2 separate regions of the Homo sapiens genome follow, and region 2 is linked to region 1. The links are contacts of gene promoters, found by promoter capture Hi-C in human tissues and cell types (Jung and others, 2019). All regions are on one chromosome and are shown on one strand. The core of a region is centred on a gene start or on the middle of the fragment in contact, and the rest is flanking DNA. Distances in the headings are between cores, read along the strand shown.

The links. Contacts are between HindIII fragments. The study calls those that stand out against the background at their distance.
Region 2: a contact is called between a fragment that was not itself captured here and the fragment with the promoter of MAMDC2 in region 1, in 1 of the 25 tissues and cell types used here (spleen).

What each region holds. Positions count from the first base shown.
Region 1 is chr9:70,038,267-70,045,392 of GRCh38, reverse strand. MAMDC2 (MAM domain containing 2) reads right to left here and starts at 1,545. Exons shown (of 14, transcript NM_153267.5): 1 at 1,162-1,545; 2 at 696-809. The coding sequence starts at 1,195. LOC124902179 (a long non-coding RNA gene) reads left to right here and starts at 1,352. Exons shown (of 2, transcript XR_007061571.1): 1 at 1,352-1,439. RefSeq lists a silencer at 1,266-1,560 and an enhancer at 6,566-7,083. The HindIII fragment of the contact is 1,989 bases long and covers 901-2,889 here.
Region 2 is chr9:70,087,455-70,094,265 of GRCh38, reverse strand. The region is part of intron 2 of MAMDC2 (MAM domain containing 2); the gene reads right to left. Among named protein-coding and RNA genes, the nearest start is that of MAMDC2, 47 kb to the right of the region's middle. The HindIII fragment of the contact is 4,157 bases long and covers 2,499-6,655 here.

The sequences.
Region 1 (7,126 bases), core at 296-2,795:
ACAAAAAAAACTATATAAAGGCAAGATGACACTTCAGAAGACCCCACATTTAAACTTTGTCCTTGGGACCCAAACAGTATAGAGTAGTAAGACAATGACCACCAGTGAGACAGGGACCCCAGGCATTTGGCAGTGTACATGGTTTCTTTTGTCCAGGGCAGGATTACAAACAGGAGTGTGAGGATGAAATCATGCAGCAAAAAACACTGTCAGGGTCAAGGCAGACGTGATGTCTTAGCACTGACGTCCCATCACAGAATTGTGGAACCATTTCTGCAAAGCTGAAGGAGAACTAGTCCCATGCAACTTTTCCCAACTCACAGACATGTCTCCTGAGGACCAGAAAGGTTGCTGGCCTGCAGAGGCACACAGCTGGTGTGCCTGCAGAGGCCCACAGCGGAGAACAATCATTAGCTGTGCTCCGTTTCTCCCTTCCATTAAGGAGTGCTGGGGTGAGACGCAAATTTTAAGCTTCTACCCATAGGCCAGGTAAACAAAGGGCGGCCTCCCGCCCGCCCCGTTCCTGCCTCGGCCATCCCTTGCAGCACAGCTGAGGGCTTGAAGGAGGATCCATGACTCACACTTTTCTTGCCGCGGAGAATTAACTCCAAGATAACATTACCCATGTGGGAAAAAAAAGCAAGCCATCAAGGAAGAAAGTTCACTTCGCGCCCCTCTCCACCGAGCCTCCTTACCTTCCTCATTTAAAATCCACGGCAGAGAGGCCAACACGGAGTCAAAGCCGCAAGTGCTCTCTTCAAAGGCACAGGACCCAGCGGGCAGGTCGAGGGCACCGGCGAGCTGCAGGGCTGCGGGCACAAAGCGAGTTTCAGTTCGAGCTCCACCCAGGAGCCTTTGCACCAACTCGGGGAGCCCCAGGGGGACTACCTGGTGAAAGTGGGGGAAAGACGAGCGGGAGGGGGCGGGAGAGGGATGCAGTACCTGTCCCCCAGCATCCCCGGGCGCCTCCACTGAGCGACCCCACGCCCACCCCCACCCCCACCCCAGGCTTGGCCAGGGGAGGGAGTTAGCGGCTGCGGAGGATCAGGAGGCGCCCTCGGATGGCCCAGCCCAGCACGGTGAGCCGGACCCCCGGGGGCAGCAGGAGCGGGGGCGAGTCGTCAGAGCGCCCCCGGGGTTGTCCCGGGGTCCAGGCCTTACCTTGCAACGCCAGGAGGACGCCCCTTAACAGCATGGTCGCGTTTCAGGGAGGATGACTAGGAAGGGGTGCAAGTTGCCAGCCCGCTGGGACTGGCTGCTCCTAGTGAAAGGGATCGTGGGAGGCGGGGGCGCCGGGGACCCAAGGAGGGAGAAGTCGAGAGGCAAAGCTTGCGCTCTGAGCTGCCCAACTTTGCAGAGCGGCTCCCGGAGCCGAGCGGTATGCTGGAAGGTGCTCGAATGGAGAGCGCCAGCGCCCCGGCGCTGAGCAGCAGCCTCAGGTCAGACCGCGGCCCAGCTGGTCCTGGGCGACGATGGGGCTGGACAGGGAGGAGACAACTGCACACTTTGAAAGGCCAGCCACGACTGGCTGGGAGAGGAGAGGTCGGCCCGCAGTGCCTTCGCTCAGGATTTTAAAGCTTGGGACCAGAGCCCTTGCAGACACTTGGAAGGGGCAGGCCTTCCAGGAGTCCCTCCGCTGGGTTGGGACCCGAGGCTCCCGCCCCGCCCAGCCGCGGTGGGAACTCGCTTATTTCTGGGGACAGCTTCCCTGCATCTGGCATGTCAGTCCCGCAGGGCTGGCCCTAATTTTAACTTCTTCTCCCCAGAATGAAAGAGGGTGGAATTCTCCAAGGACAGCCTGGAGGAAAATTTGGAAACGGTTGGGTGGAATAAGCTTTATATCTAAGGAGTTTCAGCGTTTACGGTCCAGCAATGCTAACCCTGGAATACCACCCCCACTTTTTTTAGCCGGTGGAATGTCTGGCATGCCTGGTGCTCAGCATTCCCTCCGTCCGGTGAAATGGGGGCATTCCTTCTCTCCAAAGAGCCATGATAGATTGATTAATGGGAGGCTTTACACTGGGAGGGGGTTGTTGGGGAGGGAGTTACTTCTGAGGAAGCTGTTTGCTTTGGGCACTAAGTGGGTCTCCAACAATATTCTTTTCTTGTAAAGAGTTCTTCTTCCTCCCCTCCTCTTCCTCCTCCTCCTCCTCCTTTCTCCCATTTATAATTTTGTGCAGGCAATTTTGTGAGGAGGGCAGTGGTTTTAAAACCTGAGGGTGCATCAGAATCTGCTGAAGGGCCTCACCCTCCGTTTCCGATCCAGTAGCTCTGGAGTGGGCCTGAGAGGCTGCACGTCCCTAATAAGTTTCCAGAGGCTGCTGCTGCCGCAGCGGGTTTGGAACAATACTTTGAGGACCACTGGCCTAACAAACTCCAGTTGAGCCATCAGTTCAACCTGCTCCCATGCCTTCACCTGGCTTCCAGACCGCTGGGTTTCCTGGTCTTTCATTGGCCGCCGCTTCTCGGCCTCTTTGCGTTACCTCTGTAACCCCTTAACATGAGAGTGCCTCCAAGTTCTTCCCTGTCACTCCTGTTTCTTTCTCTATCCAGCCCCTCAATGCTGTCCTCAAGTCTCATAGTTTTAGATACCAATGATAGCCTGATAACTCCCACATTTATATTTCTAACCCAGACTACTCACTAACGCCAGACTCTTCGATCTCATTGCCACCTCAACATTTCCAATCGGATGCTTCAGAGCTATTTCATACTTAACAGGTCCCAACATGAAGGCTGCATATTTCTTGCCAAACCTGCCCGTCCCCTGTGTCTTCCTCATCTCAGTAAAAGAACTATTTTCCTCCAGTTGTTCAGGAGAGAAAACTTGGAGGCATCTTCAGCTCATCCGTTCCTGTCAGACATTGCCAATTTCTATCAGCTCAGGATTCAAAACACAGCAGATGCTGACCATGCTCTGTGCCCATGGTGGTGATGCCTTGGTTGGTCCAAGCTGCCCTTGCCATCAACCTGGGATACCGCAGTGGCCTCCTGACCACGGTCTCCCTTCATTTTCTGCCCTGCCCACCCTACTCTATTCTGAACACACTAGTCAGGGTTATCCTTTTAATACAGAAATTGGGCCATGTCACTCCTTAGCTCAAGACCCAACAAGTTCCCAAGTCATTTAGTAAAGTCCAAAGTCTTCACGATGACCAACCAGGCCCTATAGGACCTGCTCCACCCTTTTCTTTCTTTTCTTGCTTTCCTTCTTTTTCTTTTTTTGAGACAGAATCCCACCCTGTCACCAGGCTGGAGTGCGATCTCTGTTCACTGCAAAGTCCACCTCCCAGGTTCAAGCAATTCTCCTGCCTCAGCCTCCCAAGTAGCTGGGATTACAGGCGTGTGACACCACGCCCAGCTAATTTTTGTATTTTTAGTAGAGACAGGGTTTCACCATGTTGGCCAGGATGGTTTCAATCTCTTGACATCATGATCCACCTGCCTCGGACTCCCGAAGTGCTGCGATTACAGGCGTGAGCCACTGCACCCAGCCCCACCCTCTTATTTCTCTGACTTCAATCACCCTGCTTACTCTTCTCTAGCCACACAGACCTCTTGGCTGATCCTCAAACACAGTCCAGCTATCCTTTCAGAATTTTGCACTGGCTGTTCTTTCTGCTCAAAATGCTCTTCCACAAAGAGCCACACAACTCACCGCCTAATGAGGTCTTCACTCAGATGTCACTTTCAGTATTAGAAAATTAGTAACCTTCTCCCTAATAAGGAAAATATATCTGGAATCCTTTTTTAAAGGTAGGAACAAATTTTCATGTGTTTTCTGTAAACAATGATTCAAATGGTCAAAAATTTATTCATTAGTGTGTGCTATTTGGTGTATATGTATCTTTTTTTATTTATATGCTTTGCCTCAGGTAGTAGCTAATAATAACATTTATTGTGTTTACCATTATAAATGTTTTATGTAGATAATCTCATTTAAGCTTCACAAAATCTCTACAGGATAAATATGTTCATTATCCCCATTTAATAGATGGGGAAACTGAGGCACAGAGTTCAGTGACTGTGGACAGTAGAGACAAAACTCAAACCCAGATCTGCTTTATTCCAAAAGCCTATTTTCTCAACCAGTACAGGACTTCTCTCACTTGGGTCTTATATTCTTTTTTTTTTTGACTTCTTGATCACAGATGGTGCTAAATATCTGATGAATTTCATCACACTACTTAACTAAAAATTCAAAGACAGTTATACATTCAGTCGAAACCTCAAAACATTATTTTCAACTAAAGAAGTTTTCAGCAACAATCAAACTGGTGCTCCTTTTTCCAGATACTTAAGGAGTATTTCAAAGTTTTAGAATTGCCTTAGATTCATGTCGTATGTTCTAAGTCATAGGAAAATGAAAAACTTCAAAGCCCTAAAGAGATCCTTCCAAAATTTAAAATATGATTTACAACCTTAACGTGACATTGTGTATTGCCACCTATGGGAACAGAATCATACATAAGTACAAACTCAGACCAAATTTTCTATTTTGCATATAATTGTTTGATCCCAAGAATATATGATCCTTAGACATTGGCACAAGTTAGAATGTCTGGGAAGCAGACTCTGATTTGAAGTTTAATGTGCAGGGTGTTTAATCAGGAGTACCTTGGGATCAGTGCCATGGAAGGGAGGGAGAGGAAGCAGGAAAGGGTGGAGGGAGAATTGGAGTTGCAATGCAAATCCCACAAAGCTTCTTTCAATCCCCCAAGGAACTATGGAGTTAAAATGGCCTATCTAACTTGTCTCATGTTAGGCTGAAATGAAAGGGCATTTGTACTGCTGTCTCCATCTGTCACTGGTTGTGGCCTATGCTGGGACAGAAGTGATCTCCAGTGAGGCAGCTCTCTGCACTGGGGAGGATCAGAAGTTGAAGGCCGATGACAATACTCCAAGCCGCTGGGACTAAAAGTCATTTCTTGAAGGGGGATCTGGACAGCATAAAAATGCCTACCACAGACGTTTTGCAGAGAAAGGAAAAAATATTGTATGTGGCCTAAGTCAGGATGCAGGGAAAAAGACTGAGGAGGGAAGCCAGAGAATCTAGAAACTACGTCAACCAACTTCCTTTGGTCACTAATCATAGCACCCACATGGTACCCTCTTATTACTTGGGAAAACAGGATCAGGTCCCAAGGAACCCAGAATGCTATTCTCCAAGATTTAGCTTAAGCAACTGATCAAATAACACATATCAAGTTCTGGCTTACAGAAAGCACTCAGTACTTAGGTATTGTAATAGGTTGAATGGTGGCTCAAAAGATACATCCGTATCCCAGAATCTGCAAATGTGACCTCATTTGGAAAAAGGGACTTTGCTAATTTAATTAAGTTAGGGATCTTGGGATGAGATCATCCTGTATTACCAGGTGGGCCCTAAATCAATGGCAAGTATCCTTATAAGAGTCAGAAGAAAAGGCACAGACACATGTAGGAAATGGTCACGTAAAGATGGAGATGGCATGTAAAGAGATTGGAGTGATGCAGCCCCAAGCCAAGGAATAACAAATTCTCCCCTAGAGCCCCAGAAGACTGTATTCTGCAGACACCTTGATTTGGGGCTTCTGGCCTCTGAAACTGTGAGTGAATAGCTTTCTGTTCTTTTAAGCCACCCGGTTTGTAGTAATTTGTTCTGGCAACCATAGAAAACTAATATAGAGTGCATTAAGTAAACACATGCCAGGCACTTAACATGCATTATCTCATTTAATCCATGCAATATCCCTATGAGGTGAATATCATTATTGTCCCCATTTTATAGACTAGGAGACAGGACCAGAGGGGGTCAATTAACCTGCTCAAAGTCACACGTCCAGCCAGCATGCAGCAAGGATTTGATCCCAGATGCCCACTTCTCCTGGCTATCCACTATGCTGCCCCTAAATGCTTCCTCCTTACACAGGCCTGTCTCTCCTAATGAGGGCTGCCTACACCACACACAGACACTATGCCCTGCTCTCTCTGTGGGTTCCTGTATGATGCTCACCTCTCACAGAGCCTGCCCATCCTCTCTGCTCTTTGCCAATCTGTTCCTTGCGCCCTCCAGGTACCTTTCACCAGGGGCTCTGCTCCTTGTTGTACCACTTCTAGCCTGGAGATCACCAAGTTCTTGCTTCTAATTTTCTGGGTCAAGGTGAGGAAGATGAAGCATTGCTGCTCCTCTCTATCCAGTGTCTTCCCACATAGCCAGGTGAGGCATTGGGGGGTGTGAGCAAATCTGTGGGAAGAAAGCAAGAAAGCCAGCATTTATGATTGCACCTTTGACTGCACTACAGAGGTTAGCCAATCTCAGAGTCTGTCTTTACTGCCCACTTTCCCTTCTGTTTTCTTTCTCTCCTTGTTAGTCTCACGCAGTGTCATGCCATGATAAGCTCAGCAAACATTTCCTGAGCACCTACTGTGAGCCAGACACTATGCTAGGGGCTGGAAATCCAGGGGTCAAGAAGACACATCCTCTGCTGCTGAGACAGGAGACTGACCCATGAGACAATAATTTCAATAAAATATGTGGATGAGATAGAATTAAGGCTGCAAATATAAAAAGTCTAGAGGCCAAGGAAGTCACGTAAATGAATGGAGTGATCTGGTAACACGGAAGAAATAGGGAGGGATGGAGACTGTGGTTAACTGGAGTAAGTAAGTCCAACTAAAGGGCATTACAGAAACCATCTCTACCCCAACTGCTCATGTTTCAAAAGAAGCCCAATATTCAGATATGTATATAACAACTCCTGATTTTCAGATGCCATTCCATTCCATTCCATTCCATTCCATTCCGTTGCATTCCATTCCATTCCTTTCCATTCCAATCCACTCATGTTGATTCCATTCCATTCTATTGCATTCAAGGCCACTTCATTCCATTCCATTCCAATCCATTCTTTTCGGATCCATTCAGTTTAAATGCATTCCATTCCTTTCCACTCCATTCCATTCCATTCCATTCCATTCCATTCCATTCCATTCCATTCCATTCCATTCCATTCCTCTCGAGTTGATTCCATTCCATTCTATTGCATTCCATTCCATTCCATTCCATTCCATTCCATTCCATTCCATTCCATTCCATTCCATTCCATGCCACTAGAGTTGATTCCATTCCATTCTCTTGCATTCC
Region 2 (6,811 bases), core at 3,328-5,827, 46 kb before region 1:
TGGTGAGGTCAGCATTGCTTAGCCGTCTTGAATGCCATTTTGGTTCTCCCTGACAACAGGGAAATTATCCTCATATCATAGCTAACACTGCAAAAGTAGTCTTAAAAGATTACAAAGCATTAAGCCTGGCAAAAACAAAACAAATGCCAGGAGGCAATCTCCAGTGTAAACAATCTGCCAACATTTGAAACCACAACCACAGATGTTTGTTCCACCCTTTGTCATAGGGTCTGTCATAGGGTGTAGCTTTAAGCCCTGCTGGCCCAAGTGGCAGTTTTAGAAGAGAAGTTTACCTTAGCAACCAGCAACAGAAAACCAAGTGATGAACCCACAATGAAAGGTCACATAATATTTGGAAAGGGAGCTTCACTTTATATGGTATTTAACAAAGGATGAAAATATAAGAAAAGGCTGCATTACCCGATAGAGAGTGTTTGTTCTACCAAAGATCAGTTCTCAGAACACATTTTCCACTACATCATTTGTCAGGTAGGGAAGATATTCCTTCTAAACATAGAAATGTCCCTGTATTTAGGCCGAGTGCGGTGGCTTATGCCTGTAATCCCAGCACTTTGGGAAGTCAAGGTGGGTGGATCACTTGAGGTCAGGAGTTCAAAACCAGCCTGACCAACATGGTGAAACCCCATTTCTACTAAAAATAAAAAAAAAAAAATTAGCCGGGCATGGTGGTTGGTGCCTGTAATCCCAGCTACTTGGGAGGCTGAGGAAGGAGAACTGCTTGAACCCGGGAGGTGGAGGTTTCAGTAACCCGAGATCTTACCACTGCCACTCCAGCCTGGGCAACAGAGCAAGGCTCCATCTGAAGAAAAAAAAAAAAAAAAACTGTCCCTGTATTTAAAATACATGTGGATGATGATGACATCAGAAGATAATGAGTAACTGAATTCACCCTGCAAGTTCCCCAGGTGTACCTGGTATGAAAAAGGTATTCTCCTTCCATAAAATATGTGTCCATTCACAAGACAAGAGATGCTATCTTACCAGTTTTGCTAAGAACACTGCCATCAGCATGGCTGAATATTTTTTCTCATGTATTGTGCAAGGCAATTCTGTCAAACAAAAGAGTTATATACCTTTCAGCTTCATTTAAGCAAGAAGAAAATAGGAGTTCCTATGAAAATTTCACTATAGTACAGATACATAAATAAATATATATACACACACACATATATACATATGTGTGTATGTATGTATGGGTACACATACATATTTGCTTTGATTTGGACTTTCACATTTCAAGTTCTGCATTTTACATCTATTATAAAGGATAAAAGCAAGTAGGAACAAGAATATTCCATTGAAAAAGAAAACGTAGCAGTGGAGGTAAACACATTTCATTTCATTGCATTATAGAGAAGATATGACTTACGATGGTGGGAGCGTAAGATTAGAAATAAGAGTTTAAATGAAGGTAAACCTCATGATATCTGTAAAATGAGCAATCTAATCTAGATTCATGAATATAAAACATTTTTTTCTCCAAACATAATTGAATACAGAAATCCATCTATTAGCAGAGCAAAGAAGAATGGCTGTGATCACCAGGTAGGCAGAATAGTCTTATATAGCCATTTGTTGTCCAGGGCAATTTTGCCTATTAAGTCTGTTTCCTCCCAGTTAACCTTCCTTCCATGAGCCTCTGAAGCTTGATGTCTGAACTCAGGGATGGTTTGGAAACCCCTACTTAGGCAGTCTTGGGTCTTCTCAAATACTGCAGTCTAATACCATGTCCTGCCTGCTCTAAAACTGACTCCTGCTCCTTCCGTCTGTTTTTCCCAGTTTACAGATCTGGCTTGTGTATTCACTCTCTACATGTCTATGTAAGTAACCACATTCGCATTGGCTGAGAAGTCATCACTTGCAAAATAGTCTTTATTGAGTTCAAGAGCCAACATGCTCTCTGGTCCTTCTAATCCAGCTGTTCTCAACCTTGGCTGCACATGGAATCACTGAGGGAGGCCTTGGTCTGCAGTAAAGCCTACACACCTCCCCAGGTGATTCTAATAGTCAAGCCAGATTTGATAAGCACTCTTCTTATCTGCTTACTCTCCTCCTTCTATTCTAACACAGCTGGACTCCAGCCAGACCATATATTCATTGATGGCAGGTTTTTGTCTATTTTACTCAGCGCTTTACCTTTAATGCCAAGTAACATAATAGGTGTTAAATAAATACATGCCAAATGAATTAAGCAGTCTACCCTGCCAGTCATTTACCTAAGGTAAAGATATTTTAAAATTAAGGCAATAAATTTAAGTCCAAGAACAATAAACACTGAAAATGAAGTCCCCGTTATTTGGAAATCTTCCTTAAGTAAGAAAGATAAATGTATGACTATGTGCCTAAGGCTTATGAGAAATAAATCACAGTAAAGTTGGGAGAAAACAAGGCAGTAGGTTTCAATAAGTTGGTTGCCATGGAGACTAGGGTTTTGATGACAATAACACTGATAGCAACTGTGTTCATTCCTGACCAATTTAGAGCACTTAACTATTCACAAAGCACTGGGGCATAATTAAGCCTCATAGCAACCCCATGATACAATTGGACAGTTATCATCCTTCATTTCCTAAATCAGGAAGGTCTGGCTCAGAGAGTATCTGCTGCCTAACAAGCAGCCAGATTCCGGATCCGATTCGGATTGCCAAATTAAGCAATTAAAAATTCGTAAATATGTTCCAAATATCACTGGGGACATACTTATACTAAAAAAATTATTTGATTTTTATTTGAAATTCAAATGTAACAGGGCATCCTGCAACCTCAGGTTCCAGGCCAGTTCTTTATCTGTGAAAAGAGTATTTTAGATTCGAAAGTCATGGTGGACCCTCTTGGATTAAATGGGCTACACTGTGGCTCCTGCCTTCTCTCCCTGACTCTGAGATTAGGTCTTCCTGAAGGCTTTGCACATGTCCAGCTCTTGGCCTGTGACCTACTCCAGCATAGCAGTGGGCTGAGCCGAGCAAGAAAAGAGGGTGGCAAAAACCACACAAATGATGTCTCTCAGTGTTCCAGGGCCAACTCTCCATGTGGACTCTGTGGGGTTTATTTTTAGTAAGTAATACAGAATGATACATAATTCAAAGATATAAGAAACTGAAGCCAAGCCTTCCTCTTACCCTCAGTTTCTGGGACACCCTTCCAGAGATACTTTATTCATGTATAAACACACACAAACATATCTTTAGATATAGCCTTTTAATTTTTCTACAAACAGTTAACATACTATATGCGATTCTGTGCCATGCTGTTCTTCACTGAATATATCTTGGAGATGGTTATATTATCTATCTGTTTCTCTATCTAAAGCTTCCTCATATCTTTAACTGCCACATAGCATAGCTTTCCATTGTATAAATGTACCATAATTTAATTAATTGGTGCCCTTGTGATGCATAATTTTCCAATCTTAAGCTATTAAAAGCAATGTGGTGATAAATCTTCTTGTATTTAGGACTAAGTACGGATTTCTGAGTATAACCATGGAAGAAGACCCTCGAAAGGGAACTGCTGAGTTAAAGGAAATGTGCCATTTATACTTTGGCTAAATGTTCCCACACTTTCATTCCTGAAGTTGTGCCAATTTATGTTGGTAGAAACAATGTATTAGAGCACTTTCCCCATCATCATAAATACAGTGTATGTTACTAAACTTTTTGATATTTAAACAATTTGATAGATAAAAAATGGTATCCCAGTGCCATTGTAATTTGGGTTTCTCTCACTATGAGTTAAATTGAACTTTTTTTTTTTTTTTTTTTGAGACAGAGTCTTGCTCTGTCACCCAGGCTGGATTGCAGTGGTGTGATCATGACCCACTGCAGCCCTGAACTCCTGGGTTCAAGCAATCCTCCCACCTTAGCCTTCCAAGTAGCTGTAGCTGCAGGCATGAGCCACCACACCAGGCCAATTTTTAAACTTTTTGTAGAGAAATTTTAAACTTTTTGTCTCACTGTGTTGCCAAGGCTGGTCTTGAACTCCTGGCCTCAGGTGATCCTTCTGCCTCAGCCTCTCAAAGTGTTGGGATTACAGGTGTGAGCCACCATGCCCAGATGACATCTTTTTGTATGTTTAAAAGCCACTGATATTTTTATGTGTGTGTGTGTGTGTGTGTGTGTGTGACATCCTTGGCCTATTTTTTTAATTGGGTTGTTGGGCTTTTAGTACTGATTTACAAAAATTCTTTATGTATTAAGAAAATTAACTGGATATCTGTCATCCATGTTGTCATGTTCCCCTAGTTCATTCGTTTTTTGATTCATAATCATTTCAATGCAGAACTTAATGAGTTTTGAAAACACCTTCTATTTACATGAGTATAAGACATATTTAGGTTAAAAAGGCTCATTTTCAACAACATACATGATTATCTCCACAACTATAACAGCTACCATTTGCAGGAGGACTTATTATGGGTCAAGTCATGTGCTAATCACTAAATACTAATCTATTTAAGTAATCACTGCAGTCCTATGAGAAATGTACAATTGAGTCATTGTACCAATAGTTCCTAAGATTTATTTGGACCTAAAGCTAGCCTGAAATAAAATTACTAAACCATATGGAGTTTGTATTTGGTGTATTCCCAACTTTTCCATCCAGCTTCTCTCCTCACCACAACATTTCTTCACTCTTTTCTCTTCCCCTCTCCACCCAGAGTCCCCACTCCCCTCCCCTTGTATCTTGTATACATTCTGAGGAAGAGCCTATTTATAATTCCCTAGATTTTCCTGCCAGCTCTCAGCCAGTCCCTACTAGAGTGCACACTGAACAGCTCCCCAAAACTTGTAGAGCACAAAAGCAATTTTTAAGATGCAAAAAATTCAAATATGCATAAAATTAGAGCTACAACTCATTGATATGATAAAGGGCAAGGGATTATTTGCAGAAATGGATGACGTATGAAGCTTCATATTCTGAATGCACATGTTCAGCCCTGTCTAGACTGTGAAGAGCATCAGAAAGCCCCTCTGGAATTTGAAGCATTGTGAATTCTAGAGAACAAGTGCCCAGGATTTGGAGTCAGAAGATGCTGTCCTGGTTTACTCTCTCTGTTAACCATGAGTCCTGGGGTAATAGTGTAGCTGACAGAAAGAGCCTGGATTTTAGAATCAGGTAGCTCTTACTTAGAATAACAACTCAGCCAATCAGTGCATGATTTCAGGAAATGTAATCAACCTCCTCCAAGCCTTAGTTTCTCAGGCGTAAAATGGAGATAATAATATGAACCTCACAGAGACGTTTGTGTAAATTTAATAACATCATGCATGGAAAGTGCCCAGCACAATTCCTGGTGTAGTGTACATTCTCAGTAAAGCATGGTCTCAGATTTTACGTCTGTCAAATCATTGTAATACTATACTATCAAAATATTTTATATTTAAGTCGTAAATAGCAGTCTCCTCAAATTCTATCATTCATGTACCACTTTTGGGGTTTTGCCATATCTGTGCACCAATGGTACTAATATTACTTAATATTTTTCTTTAACTGTACTCATCTTTGAAAAATGTAGCATTTATTTTAGTTGGTTTCAGGAAAATTAGCATATTATCCATGAACTTGGGAGTAGTTGTACTGGTGAATCTAGTATGTTTAAAAATCAATACATAATTATTAAAATAGAAAACTATGGCCACATGCCCCCTGAAATAATCTCATGAACCACCATTGTATGCCTACTACACTTTGGAAAACACTCATTTACGTGAAAGTTTGTTATTATTATATTTTCAACCTTTCCTTTTCAGGACTTGGAAGCTAAGGCCCAGAGAGGAGGAGAAACTTGATCAAAGTCAATCAGACAATGCAGAATCGAGAAAAGTACCTGGACCTCTATGCCCATGCTTCTAGCAGCCAGCCTCCTAAAATACCTCTAGTTGAAGCCAAAGTTAGAATCCTTCTACGAAACTACAGGATTAAAATGGTGATTTTCTGAAGCAATCTTGTTTTTCCCCCATTGTTCTTACCTTTCTTCACCTAGGAGACCTAAAAGGCAGGGTTTTCTTCCCAGAACATGTCTAATAGTGCATACCTGAGATGACCCAGCTATAAGCCTTTCTTGGTTTAACTGTAGGAGCCCAGGGGTAAATGGAATGGAACCAAGGAAGGCAGAGAGATTGGGGTTGTCAACATCATATCCTGCTTAGAGACTTCTGTAAAAGTTGTCTGATCTTATTTTACTTTCCCAACTGAACACTCTAAAGTGTGTCAAGACTTCTAGATGTTTCTACCCATTGCCTCCAAAAATTTAGATATGTTTAAATTCTATGCCTTTTAAAAAAATCAAGAAATTCCTAAATACTCCCTAATTGAGAAATAATAAAATTTAAAAGTTCGTAATAGAGAGCAGTTTGGGGACCTACAGAAGTAGCAAGAGTGCAGGCAGCTCTGCAATGGGTTCTCTTGCCTTTGTTTCTAAGTATCAAACTCAGAAACCAACTAAGGGTTGAGGATGTTGCAGTAGATGCATGTTGTCTGTGCCTTCTTAGTATCCATTCCCTGACATTTCTGGTTAACAGTATCCTGGTTTTTCTTTGGAAAATCTGCCCTTCCTTATTTTCAGTCCAAATGATTTGAATGGGGCTGACTCTGACCCTTAACTCCCTTTCCAGGAATGGTTACATGACCCAGGCTTGACCAATCAGATCATCCAAACCCTTTGCCACAGTGATTGGTCCAGGGATACATGCATGAGCCAGCTCAGGTAAATGAGACTCAATTATAAGAATTTTGTTAGCGCAATTGGGAAAAAGAAGTTTTCTTTCCATGAGAACTATCAGCTATAAGA